Regions from separate parts of the Homo sapiens genome. Here all the other regions are linked to region 1. Evidence: promoter capture Hi-C in 16 types of primary human blood cells and fetal thymus (Javierre and others, 2016). All regions are on one chromosome and are shown on one strand. Each heading gives the region's core, a stretch centred on a gene start or on the middle of the fragment in contact. The rest is flanking DNA. Distances are from core to core; before and after follow the strand shown.

What was found. Contacts are between HindIII fragments. The CHiCAGO score rates a contact against its expected background, and 5 or more counts as called.
Region 2: a contact is called between a fragment that was not itself captured here and the fragment with the promoter of GTPBP4 in region 1, in 2 of 17 cell types (neutrophils and monocytes). The highest score is 11.9, in neutrophils.
Region 3: a fragment that was not itself captured here is called in contact with the fragment with the promoter of GTPBP4 in region 1 in 5 of 17 cell types (monocytes, M2 macrophages, M0 macrophages and 2 more); the score reaches 13.0 in monocytes.
Region 4: a fragment that was not itself captured here is called in contact with the fragment with the promoter of GTPBP4 in region 1 in 7 of 17 cell types (neutrophils, monocytes, naive CD8 T cells and 4 more); the score reaches 20.5 in neutrophils.
Region 5: a contact is called between a fragment that was not itself captured here and the fragment with the promoter of GTPBP4 in region 1, in 12 of 17 cell types (monocytes, neutrophils, M2 macrophages and 9 more). The highest score is 29.1, in monocytes.
Region 6: a fragment that was not itself captured here is called in contact with the fragment with the promoter of GTPBP4 in region 1 in 15 of 17 cell types (neutrophils, monocytes, fetal thymus and 12 more); the score reaches 32.6 in neutrophils.

Annotation. Positions count from the first base shown.
Region 1 is chr10:987,010-989,969 of GRCh38, forward strand. GTPBP4 (GTP binding protein 4) reads left to right here and starts at 1,425. Exons shown (of 17, transcript NM_012341.3): 1 at 1,425-1,518. The coding sequence starts at 1,471. It also overlaps a transcript of LARP4B not described here. The HindIII fragment of the contact is 2,419 bases long and covers 195-2,613 here.
Region 2 is chr10:1,097,225-1,100,184 of GRCh38, forward strand. All of the region lies in intron 9 of WDR37 (WD repeat domain 37), which reads left to right. Among named protein-coding and RNA genes, the nearest start is that of WDR37, 42 kb to the left of the region's middle. The HindIII fragment of the contact is 3,550 bases long and covers 1-2,960 here.
Region 3 is chr10:880,015-882,974 of GRCh38, forward strand. All of the region lies in intron 3 of LARP4B (La ribonucleoprotein 4B), which reads right to left. Among named protein-coding and RNA genes, the nearest start is that of LARP4B, 50 kb to the right of the region's middle. The HindIII fragment of the contact is 2,488 bases long and covers 196-2,683 here.
Region 4 is chr10:1,077,203-1,080,162 of GRCh38, forward strand. WDR37 (WD repeat domain 37) reads left to right here. Exons shown (of 14, transcript NM_014023.4): 3 at 705-801; 4 at 2,809-2,904. Among named protein-coding and RNA genes, the nearest start is that of WDR37, 22 kb to the left of the region's middle. The HindIII fragment of the contact is 5,962 bases long and covers 1-2,960 here.
Region 5 is chr10:900,580-903,539 of GRCh38, forward strand. The region is part of intron 1 of LARP4B (La ribonucleoprotein 4B); the gene reads right to left. Among named protein-coding and RNA genes, the nearest start is that of LARP4B, 30 kb to the right of the region's middle. The HindIII fragment of the contact is 998 bases long and covers 921-1,918 here.
Region 6 is chr10:1,051,538-1,054,497 of GRCh38, forward strand. It overlaps a transcript of IDI1 not described here. Among named protein-coding and RNA genes, the nearest start is that of WDR37, 3.4 kb to the right of the region's middle. The HindIII fragment of the contact is 5,007 bases long and covers 1-2,960 here.

The DNA of each region.
Region 1 (2,960 bases), core at 175-2,674:
ATACCGGATTACAAGAAAAAGAGGAACTGGCTATATCAGAGTGAGAGAAAGTGGGAGAGGTTGAGGAAACATACAAGAACCTAAAAGAAAGGGCAATAAGTATGAGCATAGCTTTGCTAATCTCGGAAATGGTGGCCAGAACTGTCCTGTGGTTTAGCAAATGATCATAGCCAGCAAATCCTAATTACCCTAGAAGCTTCCTTTAGAAGTGCCACAAAGATGTAGGAGGTATGCTTATCCGCCTTGTGACACAAAAATGGAAGCATAGTTAATAGATGAGAAAAGCATGACCCAGAATGATTTTCAATATTGGAATGCTGGGAATTTATGAGAGGTATTTTCGCGTAAGAATAATAGGACTTGTTTAAAAGGATTGGAGAGTGGGGGGCATCCCAGATGCGTGAGAAGCAGTATAGCTAATGGTTAGAAGCAGGTTTGCTGGAGCCAGGCTGCCTGGGTTCAAAGCCCACCTCTGCTGCCTGTTAGCTTGTCAGCTGCACAACCACGGGGTGCTTTCGAGCCTTGTGTGCCTTTGTTTCCCCATGCACTTCATGAGGCTGTTGCAGAAATTAAACGAGTTAATATATAGTCAGCAGCTCTGAACACTGCTTGACTGAGTCAGCCCTACCTAACGTTTAATTTAAGGGATGTGGCCCTGGGTTCCCAAAGGGAGCGGCCACTCTATTCACAAACATAAAAGCAGTAAAGGCTCCATCCTCATCAACCTTCTCCTCAGTTGGACCCCACAGGACTGTCTCTCGCAACTGTTCCCTGGGCTCTCCTAAGGCACTGCGCGGAACCAGCTGCACCTCTTTTGCCTTAGATCAGGCTTTCCCTTCTCCGCCCGTTTTGGGATTTAACAAGCACGAGAAAGCAGGGCTGCAGGGAAGCCGCGAGGGCCTCCTCACCACGGCCCGGGATCAAGTCCCACGCGCGAGGCCGGGGTAGGGGCGTCATCTGCTCCACACCCAGAGGCTGGGCACGCCCCGCACGCGCGGCTTCCTCCTCCTTTGCGGGGCTCGCCGCGACCCAGGACCCCCAGACTCCCGGATCCCCTAGACCCTCTGGACTCCTAAGCCCCGCAACTCCCAAATCCCAAGACCCCGGACCCTCCAACCCTGGCCCAGGGCGCGTGGCTGGGGGCCTGAACCCGCTCCAGAAACCCGCAGGGCAGTCTGTCGGAAACCCCCGCTTTACTCAGCAGGAATTTAGTCTCCGCGCTCCCCCTAAAACCCGGGCGTCCTCTCCTCTGTACCCTCGCTCCTGAGGCCCTCACACGCCCTCCGTGGCTGACCTCCAAGCCGGGCGGGTGCGCTGTGCGACGCGGAAAGCGCCGTAGAGCACGCAGAACACGATTGGCTGAGCTCCCGGAAGTGACGTACCTCAACCGCCCGACAGTGGAAGTCCCACCTGCGCCCGACGGCGGAAGTTCCGGGAGTGCCAAGTACCCGCGTGCATACGGCTGCCGGCATGGCACATTACAACTTCAAGAAAATTACGGTGGTGCCGTCCGCCAAGGTAGGCGGCCCCGGGAGGGCCACTGCAACTTTCGCGTTCTCCTCAGCTGGGTCCCCGGGGAGGGTCCGGGCCTGTAGCCGTGGGAGAGCGGTCGCCTTCCGCTCGCCCATCCCCCGCTCCTGGGCCTGACCGTCTGGCCGCGTACTCGGGATCATTTCCCCTCCCCCAGCAGAATCCGGGGTCCACCAGAGATCGGATCCCCCAGAGACCGGGGTCCACCTAAGACCGTGGTCCACCCAAAGACTGAGGGCCCCCAGAGATGGGGGTACACCCAGAGTTGGGTTCCCTGGAGGGGCCCCGGGTGACGATGTGGGCGAGTGGAGGGGGACCCCGACATGTGAGGGAGGAAGCGTTCCGTGGTCCGTGATGAGCCTTCGGATTCTGGGTTTGGCGTAGCCCCCTCCCCTCTCAGGAATCCTGGGTTCGTTGTTCTCGTGATTTAACGTTTCATAATTTTTAAGTCATTCTCTTTCACTGTTAGATTTGGGAATACCTGTTCCTTTTCAGACCATAGTAGGCCCAGACTAAATTTTTACAGCGTTGGTTGGTGTGGCAAGAATGAGTCAACAAGTGTTGAGTATTAGGACTTTTTTTTTTTTTTTTTTTTTTTGAGACATAGTTTTTCGCTCTTGTTTCCCAGGCTGGAGCGCAGTCTCGGCTCACTGCAACCTCCACCTCCCGCGTTCAAGCGATTCTCCTGCTTCAGCCTCCCGAGTAACAGGGATTACAGTCGTGCACCACCACACCCAGCTAATTTTCGTATTTTTAGTAGAGACGGGGTTTCACCACGTTGGCCAAGCTGGCCTCGAACTCCTGATCCCGGGTGATCCTCCCGCCCCGGCCTCCCAAAGTGCTGGAATTACAGGCGTGAGCCACTGCGCCCGGCCCTAGTATTAGGACTTTTAAGAAGTCACGTTTTTATGTAGTGAACATTCGATTTGGGTCGCAATTACACAGACATTGACGGGCAACTGGAGCCTCCCAGGGACTCCTGCACGAGAGGGAGTTACTGAAGTCCCTGCAGAGTGACTGTTTTCCCCTCGTCAGTGCCTCCTTTTCTTCAGGTCTCAAGGACGGGATGAGCTTGCCTTGGAAAGCTTTGTGGGAGTCTCGTATTTTACCTTCATAGCAAAAGTTGTTTCCCCACTTCTCTCCACCATTTCTTATTTCTTCCTGACAGTTGTTCTGGCACATCTCTTGATCGATTGTAGTATTTTCTTTCTTTCTTTTTGAGATGGAGTCTCGCTCTGTTGGCCAGGTTGGAGCGCAGTGGTGTGATCCTGACTGCAGCCACCGCCTCCCAGGTTCAAGTGATTTTCCTGCCTCAGCCTCCCGAGTAGCTGGGACTACAGGCATGCGCCACCAGGCCTGGCTAATTTTTGTATTTTCAGTAGAAGTGGAGTTTCACCATGTTGGCCAGACTGGTCTTGAACTCCTAATCT
Region 2 (2,960 bases), core at 193-2,692, 110 kb after region 1:
GGTTCCGAAGAGCACATGCAGGGTTTGTCTGAACAGCCAGTTGACAGGGAGGCGAGTGTGGGTGGGAGCCACAGCTTTAAGCACCCACCGCAGCAGGATCCAGGACTGGAGATGGGATTATACCCAGAGACCCCGCCAGCTTGAACCAGAGGGGACATGGTGGGGACAGAATGAAGGAAGGCATCAGACTGCTGGGATTCCACAGCACAGAAACCAGAGCTGCCTGGGCGAGAACCTTTACCACCCTTCAAGATGAGGGAAGAATGCCCCGAAGGTGATTCTGAGGTTGGCAGGGCTGCAGCTCTCACTGCAGTCCCAGGACAAGAGCCTGTTTCTTCCTTGGTTTCGAAGTGTGGGAGCCTCCTTGGTTTCAGGGCCAGGTTGCCCATGGTCCAGTGCTGTGGGGGTGGGGTTGCCAGGCTGAGCCAAGGGGGTGACACCTCTGCCCCAGCATGCCTGGAGGGTGGCGCATCCAGACCAAGAGGGACTCTCTGGAGCCTGAAGAGCTCGTGGAGTTTGCCTTGTGGGGTTTTGGACTTGCTTGGGCCCCACCACCCTTTCCCTGTTGCCTCTTTCTCTCTTTTGGAAAGGGAGCGTCTGTCCAGTGCCTGCCCTACTGTTGTATTTTGGGAACATGTAACTTGTTTGGGTTCCGTGGTTTACGGCTGGAGGGGAGCTCAGCTTCAGGGTGGGCGAATCGCACTCTGAGTCCCACCCAGTCCTGATTCAGGTGATGTTTTGTTGAGACTTGGGACTTCACACCTTAGCGCTGATGCTGGAATAAGACTTCTGGGGCTGTTGGGATGGGATGACTGTATTTGCCATGCAAGAAGGATATGAATTTGGGGGAGGCCAGGGACAGGATGTTCTCAACTGAATGTCTCCGTCCCCCAGAAATCTGTGTTGAAGCCCTAACCCCCAGTGTGGCTGTATTTGGAGATGGGGCCTCTGAGAAAGTGGTTAAAGCAAAATGAGGTAGTGGAGGGGATGCCCTGATCCCATAGGATGAGTGTGTCCTTGTCAGAAGAGACACCAGACAGCTCACCCTTATGGCTGCCCTTGTGTGTGCACGCTCTCTTTCTACCCCCTCCCCATCTGTCCGTTTTTTTTTTTTTTTTTTTGAGATGGAGTCTCGCTCTGTTGCCCAGGCTGGAGTGCAGTGGCGTGATCTTGGCTCACTGCAACCTCCACCTCCCGGGTTCAAGGGATTCTCCTGCCTCAGCCTCCCGAGTAGCTGGGACCACAGATGCGTGTCACCACACCCAACTAATTTTTGTATTTTTAGTAGAGATGGGGTTTCACCACGTTCGCCAGACGGTCTCAATCTCTTGACCTCGTGATCCGCCCTCCTCGGCCTCCCAAAGTGCTGGGATTACAGGCGTGAGCCACCGTGCCCAGCCTCTCTGTGCTAATATTAATAGAAGAGCCCCTGTGGGCACGCGGCAGGATGGCGGTGCCACACACCGGAAGAGGGGACTCACCAGAAGCTGCACTGGTTGACACGTTGGTCATGGACTTAGAGTCTCCAGAACTGGAAGATGACTAATTTCTGTTTTTGAAGCCTTTTGGCCTGTAGTCTTGTGTTTTGGCAGCCTGCGTTGAATGAGACAGTGCCTAGAAAGATGCTCCTTCACCTCTGTATGCATGCATCTGCTCCATCCTTCCTTTCAACAGACAGTAAACATTTACCGTCCACTCTCTTACAGTTGATGTTTGGATCCTGTTTCTCACTGTTTCATCTGTTTAATATTAGACATCTGGTGTATCTTTCATGGACGTTTATCATCACATCAACTAATGGCCTTTATGACATCAATTTTATGTGGTTCACATTTAAACGTAGGTAACAAAAGATGTGTATTGAGAAGAATGAATTCATGTATTTATACCATAAATTCATAAAATTCTTCACTTACTGTTTGCCTTGTGCTCTCTGCAGTAGCCCAGTGCCCTATGTTTATGATCACAAAGAGGCCTGAATGTTTCTCTGAGAGCAGTTATCTCCCTAGTTTCAATGACAGGATAAATGTTAGTGGCGTGATCTTCCCACGTGCTCAGCCCCCCCAGTTCGGTGCCTGAACAGGTGGGAACAGTGCCAGGCAGACAGTGTAAATGACGTCCACGTCTAGAAGTTTCAGTTTGTATTGGGCTGTGATTGTTGCAAGGATGAAAGTAATCTAGTTTTGATATTTTCATCTTGGAATATTCCTTGAGTTTTCTGCTTTGTGAACATTCTAAACACTGTTCTATGTGGAGATAGTTAAGCAGTTAATAAATTCCAGTGATAAATGAGTTTTCTTTAGTCCTAATAGAGGTTATCATAGTTCATTTTTAACTGCATGTATTGTGTATTAACACAGTTTTGTTCTCTTTGTGGAATTGCCAGACTATTCATTATGTAGCGCATAACACTGTCCACTAACACGCACATTTAGTGATGAAACAAGTGAAATGTGTGCTGATGGTGGGCGTGGTGGAGAGGTGAGGAGGGTGAGCATTGATGCTTAGGAAATTCAGCGTGTGCACTGATGGTGTGGCGGAGACGTGAGGAGGGTGAGCATTGATGCTTAGGAAATTCAAAATGTGCACTAATGGCGGGCATGGTGGAGAGGTGAGGAGGGTGAGCATTGATGCTCAGGAAATTCAAAATGTGCGCTGATGGCGGGCGTGGTGGAGTGGTGGAGAGGTGAGGAGGGTGAGCACTGATGCTCAGGAAATTCAAAATGTGCACTGATGGTGGGCGTGGTGGAGAGGTGAGGAGGGTGAGCATTGATGCTCAGGAAATTCAAAGGAGTTAATGTATGGATTGTTTTCCAAATAAAATAAGAAAAACACTAATTTTGTGAGAGGGAAGATTCATGTCCAGTACTTACATTAAAAACACCTAATAGTTTACTTAGAATGTTCACTTAATTTTATTTTCTTCTTTACTACTTTGCTTGTGTTGGGTGAGTGCACTT
Region 3 (2,960 bases), core at 190-2,689, 110 kb before region 1:
CCGCCCGCCTCAGCCTCCCAAAGTGCTGGGATTACAGACATGAGCCACCGCACCTGGCCCAAGTCTGTTCTTAAAACAGACTGACAAGGTGGTAACAACCTGCCAAAAGGTCTAACCTGCAAGATTAACATACCAAGAGCAGCCACGTGTCACTTGCGTACAAATACAGGAGTTGGATATTTTCATAGAAATTCAAGCTTTCTGATTGCTAAGCCTACTCTTATTCAAAATATAGGCCTGCAATAATTAATCTGAATTGCTAATTAATAGTTATTCATTCAGAAGCTGTGTCATCAAAAGGCAAAGGTGGTTTTTTGAAAACTGATAAAGGAAGGGACTAAAGTTTTTTGGTATTACCATCTGTAAAGGAGTTTAAAAAAAAAAATTCTGGGCCGGGTGCAGTGGCTCAAGCCTGTAATCCCAACACCTTGGGAGGCCAAGGCGGGCAGATCACTTGAGGCCAGAGTTCGAGACCAGCTTGGGCAACATGGCGAAACCCCATCTCTACGAAAAATACAAAAATTAGCCAAGCATGGTGGTGCATGCCTGTAATTCCAGCTACTCAGAAGGCTGAGGCACAAGAATAGCTTGAACCCGGGAGGCAGAGGCTGCAGTGAGCAGAGATCGCACTACTGCACTATAGCCAGCCTGAGTAACAGAGTGAGGCTGACTCAAAAAAAAAAAAATCATTCTGATATAGATGTTTTGCTGAATTGTACATAGAGTTTAGTATGAGGATGAGTTAGATTTCCAATTTCAGATTTCCAGTTTCACACTATGATTAGAAAAGACTTGCTGTGACTTTGCATCTTTCTTCTGAGGAGGTAATTTAACATAAACACTTCTACCTAATATTACCTGTCCCTTAAACATCATCATTCACTCACATTCCTCTCTCAAACCTGCTGTTGATTTATGATAAAACACAAGAGGATCATTTCAACAGAAAATGGTTTCCAGGCTGATGTAGTGTCTCCAAGGGAAAAGCAGGTACTTGGCTGGTCGCACACAGGAGTAAGAACTGGAGTCCCTGAGTGGGCTTCAGGAGGGGCAAAAAGCCGCTGAGAATGATGTTTGCTATAGATGAAGTTTGTGGCGCTAACAGGGAAGGTAAAGAACCTTTAACCAAACGACACTGTTGCTGAATACCAGTGGTCAGATATTTTTTCTTCCTCAAGAAGGAGAACCCATCGCTGTGGCCCACTGCCAGTGGTCACTCTTCATCATAAACACCCTCAAAACCCTTTCAATCCCCTCTCGCCTTCTATCACCTTACCTTCAAAGCCAAGATCTTAGGAGGAATGTCACCGTCTAAGTTGTGTCTACCACTCCTGTCTCTCACCCACTGCAATCTGGCTTTTGCTCCTATCAGTCCTGGGAAATACTCTTGCTAAGGTCACAACTGACCCCTCGCTTTGTTACCTTACTACACTTCACTTGAGTCAGCCTCCCTGCCTCTATCTCCACCCCACACTGTCCTCTGGTTTTCCTCCCATCCCTCTGACCACTCCGCGTCCTAGATTCCTTCCTGTTTCTGATATATTGAGGGAATCGAGAGTTTCATCACTGTCCCTGCCTGGAACTCAGGTAAACTTAATGCAAAGTACTGTAATCATAACTATTGGTACGATATACTTCAAAATCAGTAGATCCTTATGACCTCAAGGTGAGAACATTCAAAATGACCTTGCTTGACTAGGGGCAAGATAAAGAGTGCTTCTTCTAGACTCACCTACGTCTCAGTGCCTCCCACCTCCAGGTGTACGCTCATCTTGTACCTAAGGCTCACACACAATGTGATCATGCAATCTTGCATGCTGTGTTAGGGCTCCTCGAAGACGTGTATCTCACGCTCATCTGAACAACCTCTCCATAGAAAATGTCTTAGCCATCATGATCACTTGCACTCAGTTTTGATGAATGGATGGATACTCAAATTTTATGCAGGCAGTACTAGCTGCTTGCCTACCAGACACAATGCATTGAGCTGGCCACAGAAGGGAACAGAATGTGGAGACACAGAGCATGTTTGTGCCTGCCCAAGGATGCTCCCATCCTTAGAGACAGGGCCTAACTATAAGTGGGCCTGGGGGTGGGCTGGGGGTTTAATGGGGTAATGTAAAAGTTCTAAGACTACATTATGGTGATGATTACACAACTCAGTAAATCTACTAAAAATAATTCAATTGCATACTTTAAATGGGTGAGTTTTACAGAATGTAAATTATACTTTAATAAAGTTTTTTTTTTTAATGAACAGAACACAGTACCAGAAGTTTACAGTTTAGTGGAGAAAACATGTACACAAATTTGAGTAATTCTGACAATCATGTCACTCATTATAATATATTGTTCTCATACTAAATAGGGAAACCATTTTTTTTTTTTTCTGAGACAGAGTTTCACTCTGCTGCCTAGGCTGGAGTGTGGTGGCACAATCTCGGCTCACTACAAGCTCTGCCTCCCAGGTTAACGCCATTCTCCTGCCTCAGCCTCCCGAGTAGCTGGGACTACAGGCGTGTGCCACCACACCTGGCTAATTTTTTGTATTTTTAGTAGGGACGGGGTTTCACCGTGTTAGCCAGGATGGTCTCGATCTCAGGGAAACCATATTCTTACAGTCTAATAGAGATCACTTTTTTGTGTTCTTTGGCTAACCCTGTAAATAGTTACTAGCTCAGTAAGCTTTTTGGAGAGGGCAGGAAGCTGTCTAATAAATACAACTAAATAGTACCAGTGGATAAATGCAAATCTGCTCCTGAATTATTCATGTATTTCTTTGGGTATCTCTATTGCACGTCTCCTCCTACTCAACTCTGACAGAATGGCTAAACTGTAAATAGCCTGGTTCCTCAACCCTGACTGCTAAATGTATTCACTTGCCCATCATAACAACTGGCTGAGCACTGCCACCTAATCACTAAACCAATGCAAACTCCTGGTCAACTATGAAGCATGTA
Region 4 (2,960 bases), core at 285-2,784, 90 kb after region 1:
GATATGTTTGGTGCTCAGGACCTGCTTACTTGCTGGACCACACTTGACAATGTAGCTCCTTCCCTTCGCCTTCCCAGGGGTGCGGGAAACACACAGGCATGAAGAGCGTGGCCTGGGCAGGAAATAAAAAGTTAATGTTTTCACTCAATTAATAGACATTTGGCTCTTTTTTGTGAAATTTTTCTTTTTTTCCTCTTCACAACACTCTTTTAGGTGTTATGTCGAGTGATGGGAGAGTGACTGTGCTTTTGCTTAAAGTGCAGTGGGTGTGGCGGGAACTCTGCAAAGGTGCCTCTTCCATGAGGGTCTAGCAGATTAAAATACTTGTAGGATAGCGTATGATGGCACTCAGAGGCTGTTTATAATAGTTCATTTATGGGAGCTGCCGCCTTTCTCTCCAAATTTGGAAGTTTTAAAATAAGGTAGGCTTATGTCCTCTCTTGTAAAGGGAAAAATTGTGTTATTTTGAAGGAGTGTTTATTTTCAAATCCCATATCATACTAGGTAGCCATTTATACAATTTGATTTATAGTCTCCTTGGCAGAAATTTGGAACTTTAAACTCTTTAAGCATTTTATATATAAAAATATGTAATAATACAAAATAAGAGTTTACAATAAAAGATAATTCACTTTGGAAAAAGCATATTTGTACTTAGAGTTTTTCATTCATTCATTCATTTTAAACAAAGTCTTCTTCTGCAGGATTCTAAACTGCCTTCCTCGGTTCGCAGTACACTTCTGGAACTGTTTGGTCAAATAGAAAGAGAATTTGAAAACCTTTATATCGAAAACTTAGAATGTGAGTATCTCCTATTTTAATATACTTTTATAGCTTTACCTATCCATAGTCAAATTTATGAATAGACATTCATCACTATATTAGTTTTCTGTTCTGCTGTAGCAAACTTAAACTTATTTTAGTGGCTTAAACTAACACAGATTTGTCATCTTGCAGTTCTGTGGGTCTGGTATAATTCCCACGAGGACTCCGTCTCAAAAGTAAATAAATAAAAATAAAAAATAAAAAATACATGGATCTTATCATTTTCCCTACACCAAGTACACCATAAATTGAGAAAACATTGATTTACTTTTTTATTAATATACCATCATTTGAAAATTGATGCATATACTATATCTGACTTATTAAAGACAAATCAAAACAATTTTGAATTAGCTTGGCTTTAATTTATCTTTTTTTTATTTTGGAAGTAATGGCCATATGTGCTTAAAAATTTATCAGACAGTATAAAAAGAAATCTACCATTACCCCTCAAGCCCATCGCACTCTTCAAAGGAAGACATTTTCTGCATGTTTTTGCTTTTGGTTCTTTTGGTGGTTAGTCCTGTGAATGTAAGTAATCATCTTCTGGTTTTAGATCTATCCGCTTTAGTGTTAATGCTTCACAGTGAAATAAACAGGTCCTTTGCGCTGCTCTATTACTTTCCAGTTTTTCTCCTTCAGGGTTTGTGTTTGTAAAATTTATATATATAAAGACAGGGTCTCACTGTGTTGCCCAGGCTGGTCTCAAACCCCTGGGCTTAAGTGGTCTTCCCACCTTGGCCTCCCAAAGTGCTGGGATTATAGGTGTGAGCCACCACACCCAAACTATAAAATTTGTACTAGACAAATGTAACTACAATCAAGTCTTTCATGCTTTATCTACAGGTTGATTCCAAAGGTTGAATACTAACAAAGAGCATTTCCATTGTTAAGCTGTTTTTCACTCTGTAACTAAGTGGTGTGGTTGGATGAATAATGAAGAGAATATAATCCTCTGTCATTTAAACTTTGCTTTTGGAAATTTTAATGTTAATACTGGATTCTCCTTTTTAAAGAGTCCACCTTTACAATTCATAGAGGGAAAAATCATTTCAACTTTTTTGTTTTTTTTTTTGAGACAAAATCTTGCTCTGTCACCTAGGCTGGAGTGCAGTGGCGTGATCTGGGCTCACTGCAACCTCCGCCTCCCAAGTTCAAGCGATTCTCATGCCTCAGCCTCCCAAGTAGCTGGGATCACAGGCACCCACCACCATGCCTGGCTAATTTTTGTATTTTTAGTAGAGAAGGGGTTTTGCCATGTTGGCCAGGCTGGTCTTGAACCCCTGGCCTCAAGTGATCTGCCTGCCTCGGCCTCCAAAATTGTTGGGATTACAGGCATGAGATACTGTGCCCAGCCCAGAATAATGTTTTTAATCGTGCAGAATCAATCACTATGGAAACTATGTTGAAATGCGGGTGCTGTCTTTGAGACCCTGATAGCAGTGTCTTCCACAGTGTAGCAAGTGTGTGAGCTTTTACTTTTGGAATGGTATCTCTAATGGTTTCTTTCTTTCTTTTTTTTTTTGAGATGGAGTGTCACTCTGTTGTCCAGGCTGGAGTGCTGTGGCGTGATCTCGGCTCACTGCAATCTCTGCCTCCCGGGTTCAAGCAATTCTCCTGCCTCAGCCTCCTGAGTAGCTGGGATTACAGGCATGCACCACCACGCCCGGCTATTTTTTGTATTTTCAGTAGAGACACCCTGTTGGTCAGGCTGGTCTCAAACTCCTGACCTCGTGATCCACCTGCCTTGGCCTCCCAAAGTGCTGGGATTACAGACGTGAGCCACCTCACCCAGCCTCGAATGGTTTCTTTAGTTTTTTGAGAACTCTATGAATTGTGATCTTGCTTATTAGAATATTATTCATGTCTTTGTTTATATAACACTAATATATAGCATTTTTTCTGTGTGCGAGTTTTGGAAGTGGTGAGTACACTTAAACATAAAAACATACTTTAGATTTTTGAAAACTTTTTTCTTCCCAGTACGTAGAGAAATCGACACTCTTAATGAACGTTTAGCTGCTGAAGGACAAGCGATTGATGGAGCAGAGCTGAGTAAGGGCCAACTCAAAACAAAAGGTAAGGTGAATCCCATGAAAGTCTTGTCCTGCAGATTATACATGCAGGAAATTTGG
Region 5 (2,960 bases), core at 170-2,669, 86 kb before region 1:
AGCATGCCACAAAGCCCAGCTAAAAAAGGATATATTTCCTTTTTTTTTTTTTTTTTGTGAGAAGCAGTCTCACTCTGTTGCCCAGGCTGGAGTGCAGTGGCACAATCTCAGCTCACTGTAACCCCTGCCTCCCGAGTTCAAGCGATTCTCCTGCCTCAGCCTCTCGAGTAGCTGGGACTACAGGTGCACGCCACCACGCTTGGCTAATTTTTGTATGTTTAGAGAGACGATGTTTCACCACACTGGCCAGGCTGGTCTCGAACTCCTGACCTCATGATCTGCCTGCCTCAGCCTCCCAAAGTGCTGGGATTACAGGTGTGAGCCACCAGCGCCTGGCCTCTTTTTTTTTTTTTTTTTGAGACGGAGTCTTGCTCTTTTTGCCCAGGCTGGAGTGCAATGGCACAATCTCGGCTAACTGCAACCTCTGCCTCCTGGGTTCAAGCGATTCTCCTGCTTCAGCCTCATGAGTAGCTGGGATTACAGGCACCTGCCACCACGCCCGGCTAATTTTTTGTATTGTTAGTAGAGACGAGGTTTCACCATGTTGGCCTGGTTTCGAACTCCTGACCTCCTGATCCACCCGCCTCGGCCTCCCAAAGTGCTGGGATTACAGGAGTGAGCCACCGCACCCAGCAGAAGGATATATTTCTTAACAGAAATTTTCATTATGATTCCCACGTGCATATCTAAATAGAGAAGTGCAGAAAATAAAATACAATAGGAATTCTAGTTCCTCATCCATCTGCCTTGTGCTGTTAGTTGGATGATATGGTTTATCTCACGGCTGCCAGCACCACTCTGTAATATTTGAAATGCACATTTTTATCTTACAATAGAATAATGTGAGAGCACCTTAGGGCAGATTATTTTATGTTCCTTCCATGTACCTTATACACATCATATACTCAAGTGAATCTGTAAGCTTGAATAGTGGGAACATTTACAGAGCAACAGACTGCTGCTTCCAACAAAACTGTTATTTTAGTCTTTTGTTTTTTTCAAGATTCAGTATCTCTATGATATTCCATTCTTTTCGTTTCATGTTCTTATAGTAAGTGTGTCACTCAAAGATACTGACGGATAAAAGAAATGCGTCCAATCTCAGTAGAGTAGTTGTTTATACATTTAAACTGGCACTCAGCACTGGAGTATTCCTAAGGAGATGTTGCCAATAAATTTCAAGACTAATTTTGTAAAATGTCCTTTATATGTGTACATCGGTGCTTCTACTGAAAAAAACAGCAGTGAGAAAATGTGAGTTTTATTTATAGTTTGAGTTGGTTCTCCTCCTAAGGAGGACATAATCAGACACAAGATACAAAAACTTATTTGTTAGCAAGATCTGATTGAAAAAGTACCTACATGAGAAGACCACCAAATAATATACTTTCAAAATCTTCCTGATTTTAAATTTAGAACGTGTCTACTAAGTCGACACACAAAAAAAGGACAACGGTCCCCTCCACCGTTAAAGCCTGTGACTGGGTCTACGACATTATCTTCTGGAGAGTACAATCTTTTGAAAAGACCATTTTAGCTAGGATTCTTACTAAAACATAATACAAAACAACCACCGAAACTGGAGTTTAGATCATCTCATTAACCCTCTGGCTAGGAGAGCATTTTACTCATTAAACCTTTGACGAACTCAAAAACCACCACTCTAATACTTGGTTGTAAAGAAGCTGAAATAAAGTATCTGAACCAAATGCACAGAACATTGTTTTGCACAAGCCCTAAGCTGCAGCAGTGCGAATCATGGCCCTCGGAGTACCACTTCTTGCTTTTATCCCGTGCTACACCTTTCCCAGTAAAGAGCTTCTTAGGAAGGGTTTCCACACCTTTTCACACACTTTCACAAAGGGAAAAGCAAATGGAAAAGTTGACAACTACATTAGGAGTATCTTTTTAGGACACAAGCTTAGCTAATTCACACAGCTTCCTTTGTCAAATACTGGACTACCAAGAAGCATCAAAACCAAAATCTGCAGTCTAAGCAGGGCACAGCTGCAGCACGTTCACTTCATTTAACCTCAAGTTGAAGCAGAAACATAAAATCTTTTTTTTTTTTTTTTTTAATTTTGAGATAGAGTCTCACTCTGTTGCCCAGGCTGGAGCGCAATGGTGCCATCTCAGCTCACTGCAACCTCCACATCCCAGGTTCAAGTGATTCTCCTGCCTCAGTCTCCCAAGTACCTAGGATTGCAGGTGTGCACCACCACACTCAGCTAGTTTTTGTATTTTTAGTAGAGACAGGGTTTCACCATATTGGCCAGGCTGGTCTCAACCTGACCTCAAGTGATCCCGCCCACCTCGGCCTCGAAAAGTGCTGGGATTACCGGTGTGAGCCACGGTGCCTGGCATAAAATCTTTTTAATACAGATGTTAAATTACCTGGTTGAAAAGCTAGTTGTCTCTTTTGTCTAGTCTGTTTAGAATATATTCTAACCTCCATTTTTCTGTCCATCAGCATTTTATTCCATTAGAAATTACTTCTCATGTTGAGAATGTCAACCTGGACAAACAAGATTCAACCTAACCTGGCAGGATGTGTGCTGGATGCCCAGGAAGCCTCTCCTGACTTGCAAGCGTCCCCTACTTCCACTCTTCCACATCCTTCAGACCCACCTGCTCACTGCTGCACTCAGGCTCACTTATGCCATCTCTCAGCCATGGACTGATCTCGCAGATGGCAAACAAAGTATACCCAGAGTCCAGAGGAGGAAAAGGCAACTTCCTGTTGATGTTTCACATGCAATCTTACCTTTTGGACAAAGAGCAGAACTGCCTGATTCAATCTTTTATAATTTACTTTTACCTTAAGGAATTGCATATATAAACTTATCTTACTGCACGGCTTTAATTCCATTTTGAATATGTATTTTCTTGAGATTATTGATAGTCTCCATAAAAATCTTTGCTTCCTCTCATTTACATCTGAAAACAAAACAAAACAAAAA
Region 6 (2,960 bases), core at 216-2,715, 65 kb after region 1:
CGTTCCCACAAGTTCTTTTCCTGGAGACAACAATCATAATTCAGCATGTAGCAGAAGTGCTTTATGTGCATTTCCCATTTTGTTATAGAGAATATTAGATGAGTACTGAATGGTCGAGATGATTAAAGTTAATATTTTTTACTGCTAACCATCAGCTGAGCCTTCAATGAGTCATAATCTTTTTGCTGGTGGAGGGTTTTGCCTCAATGTTGATGGCTGTTGATCAAGGTGGTGCTTGAAAGTTGGGGTGGCTGTTGCAGTTTCTTAAAATAAGACAATAATGAAATTTGTCACGTTGATTGACAATTCTTTTCATGAAAGATTTTTTTTAAACCACAGGAAAACTTTTTTTTGAGACAGAGTCTCGTTCTTTCGCCCAGGCTGAAGTGCAGTGGTGCGATCTTGGCTCACTGTAACCTCCACCTCCTGGGTTCAAGCAATTCTCCTACCTCAGCCTCATGAGTAGCTGGCACTATGGGCGTGTGCCACCATGCCCGGCTAATTTTTGTATTATTAGTAGAGCTTGGGTTTCACCATGTTGGCCAGGCTGGTCTTGAACTCCTGACCTTGTGATCTGCCCACCTTGGCCTCTCAAAATGCTGGGATTATAGGCATGAGCCACCGCACCCGGCCAGGAAAACTTCCAAAGTTAGAGTCAATCCTCTCAAACCCTGCTGCTACTTCATAAACTAAGTCTATGGAGTATTCTGAATCCTTTGTTATCATTTCAACAGTGTTCACATCTTCACCAGGATTAGGTTCCATCTCAAGAGACCACTTTCTTTGTTCATCCACAAGAAGCAACTGCTTATCCATTCATGTTTTATTATGCTAGTGCAGTGATTCAGTTACATCTTCGGGCAGCCATAGCCTTACAAAATGTATTTCTTAAATAATGAGACTTGAAAGTCAAAATGACTTCTTGAGCTATGGGCTGCAAAAGGGATGTTGTGTTAGCAGGCATGAAATCAACATGAATCTCCTTGTATATCTCCATCAGAGCTCTTGGGTGAACAGGAGCACTGTAAATCAGCAGTAATATTTTGAAACGAAATCTTTTTTTTTTCCTGAGCAGTAGGTCTCAACAACAGTGGGCTGACAATATTTAGTAAACCACACTGTGTAAGTAGATGTGCTGTCATCTAGGCTTTGTTGTTCTATCTACACAGCAGAGGCAGACTAGAATTAGCATAACGCTTAAGGACTCTAGGATTTTCAGAATGATAAATGAGCACTGGCTTCAACATAAAGTCATCAGCTGCACTAGCCCCCTAGCAAGGGTCAGCCTGTCCTTTGGAGCTCTGAAGCCAGGCTTTGACTTCTCCTCTCTAGTTATGACAGTCCTGGGCGGCATCTTTTCCCAAAATAAGGTTGTTTCAACTCCAATGAAAACCTATTGTTTAGCAAAGCCGTCTTCATCAGTGATCTTAGGTAGATCTCCTAGATGACTTGCTGCTTTATCTTGCACTTGCACATTTTTTTTTTTGAGATGGAGTCTCACTCTGTTACCCAGGAGTGTGGTGGTGTGATCTTGGCTTACAGCAACCTCCAACTCCTGGGTTCAAGTGATCCTCCTGCCTTAGCCTCCTGAGTAGCTGGGACTACAGGCGTGTGCCACCACACCCAGTTAATTTTTGTATTTTTAGTGGAGGCAGGGTTTCACCATGTTGGCCAGGCTGGTCTTGAACTCCTCACCTCAAGGGATCCACTTGCATTGGCCTCCCAAAGTGCTGGAATTACAGGCATAAGCCACCATGCCTGGCCTATCTTGCACTTTTGTATTATAGAGACAGCTTCTTTCCTTCAACCTCATGAACCAACCTCTGATAGCTTCAGATTTTTCTTCTGTAGCTTCCTTACCTCTCTCAGCCTTCAGAAAACTGAAGAGAGTTAGGGCCTTACTCTGGATTAGGCTTTATCAGAATATTGTGGCTGGTTTAATCTATACAGACCACTCAGAGTTTCTCCATATCAGCAATAAAGCTGTTTTATTTTCTTACCATTTGTGTATTCACTGTAGGAGCACTTCAAATTTCCTTCAAGAACTTTTCCTTTGCATTCACGACTTAGCTGTTTCAACATGCCTTCCTCACCATGCTTAATCATTAATCATTTCTAGTTTTGATTTAAAGTAAGAGATGTGCAACTCATTCTTTTATGAAACAGTAGCCATTTTAGGGCTATTAATTGCCTGATTTTTTTTTTTTTTTGAGTCAGGGTCTTGCTTTGCTGCCCATGCTGAAGTGCAGTGGCGTGATCACAGCTCACTGCAGCCTCGAACTCCTAGGCTCAAGCAATCCTCCTGCTTCAGTCTCCCAAGTAGCTGGGACTACAGGCATGAGCCACCACCATGCCTGGCCCCTAATTTCAGTATTGCTGTGTCTCAAGGATAGGGAGGTCTGAGCAGAAGGAGAGAGATAGGGAGGCAGCTGGTCAGTGCAGTGGTCAGAACACATAAAACATTTATCGACTCAGTTTGCTGTCTTATATAGGGGTGGTTCATGGTGCCCCCCAAGCAATTATGACAGTAATATCAAAGATCACTAATCACAGATCACTATAACTGATTTAATAACGGAAACATTCCAAGAATTACCAAAATGTGAGAGAGACATGAAGTGAGCACATACTGTTAGAAAGATGGTGCTGACAGACTTGCTCCATGCAGGGCTGCCACAAACCTCCACTTTGTAAGAAACATATGATACCTGTGAAGTGCAATAAAGTGATACACATGAAAACAGTTGTGCCTGTTACATGACATATATACACACATATATATAACTTGAGAATTTAGGAAGCGACATGTCAAACAGCTTATAACACTATAGTGTACTATCCAAGTGTTTGAGACACAGTTAAAATAATCAGTAATGAGGACAATGACAGAATACCTAGTAAATCTTAATTCCCTATCAAACCATGCGCAAAAATGAGTCTTAGTAAATTCAGCATTGTTG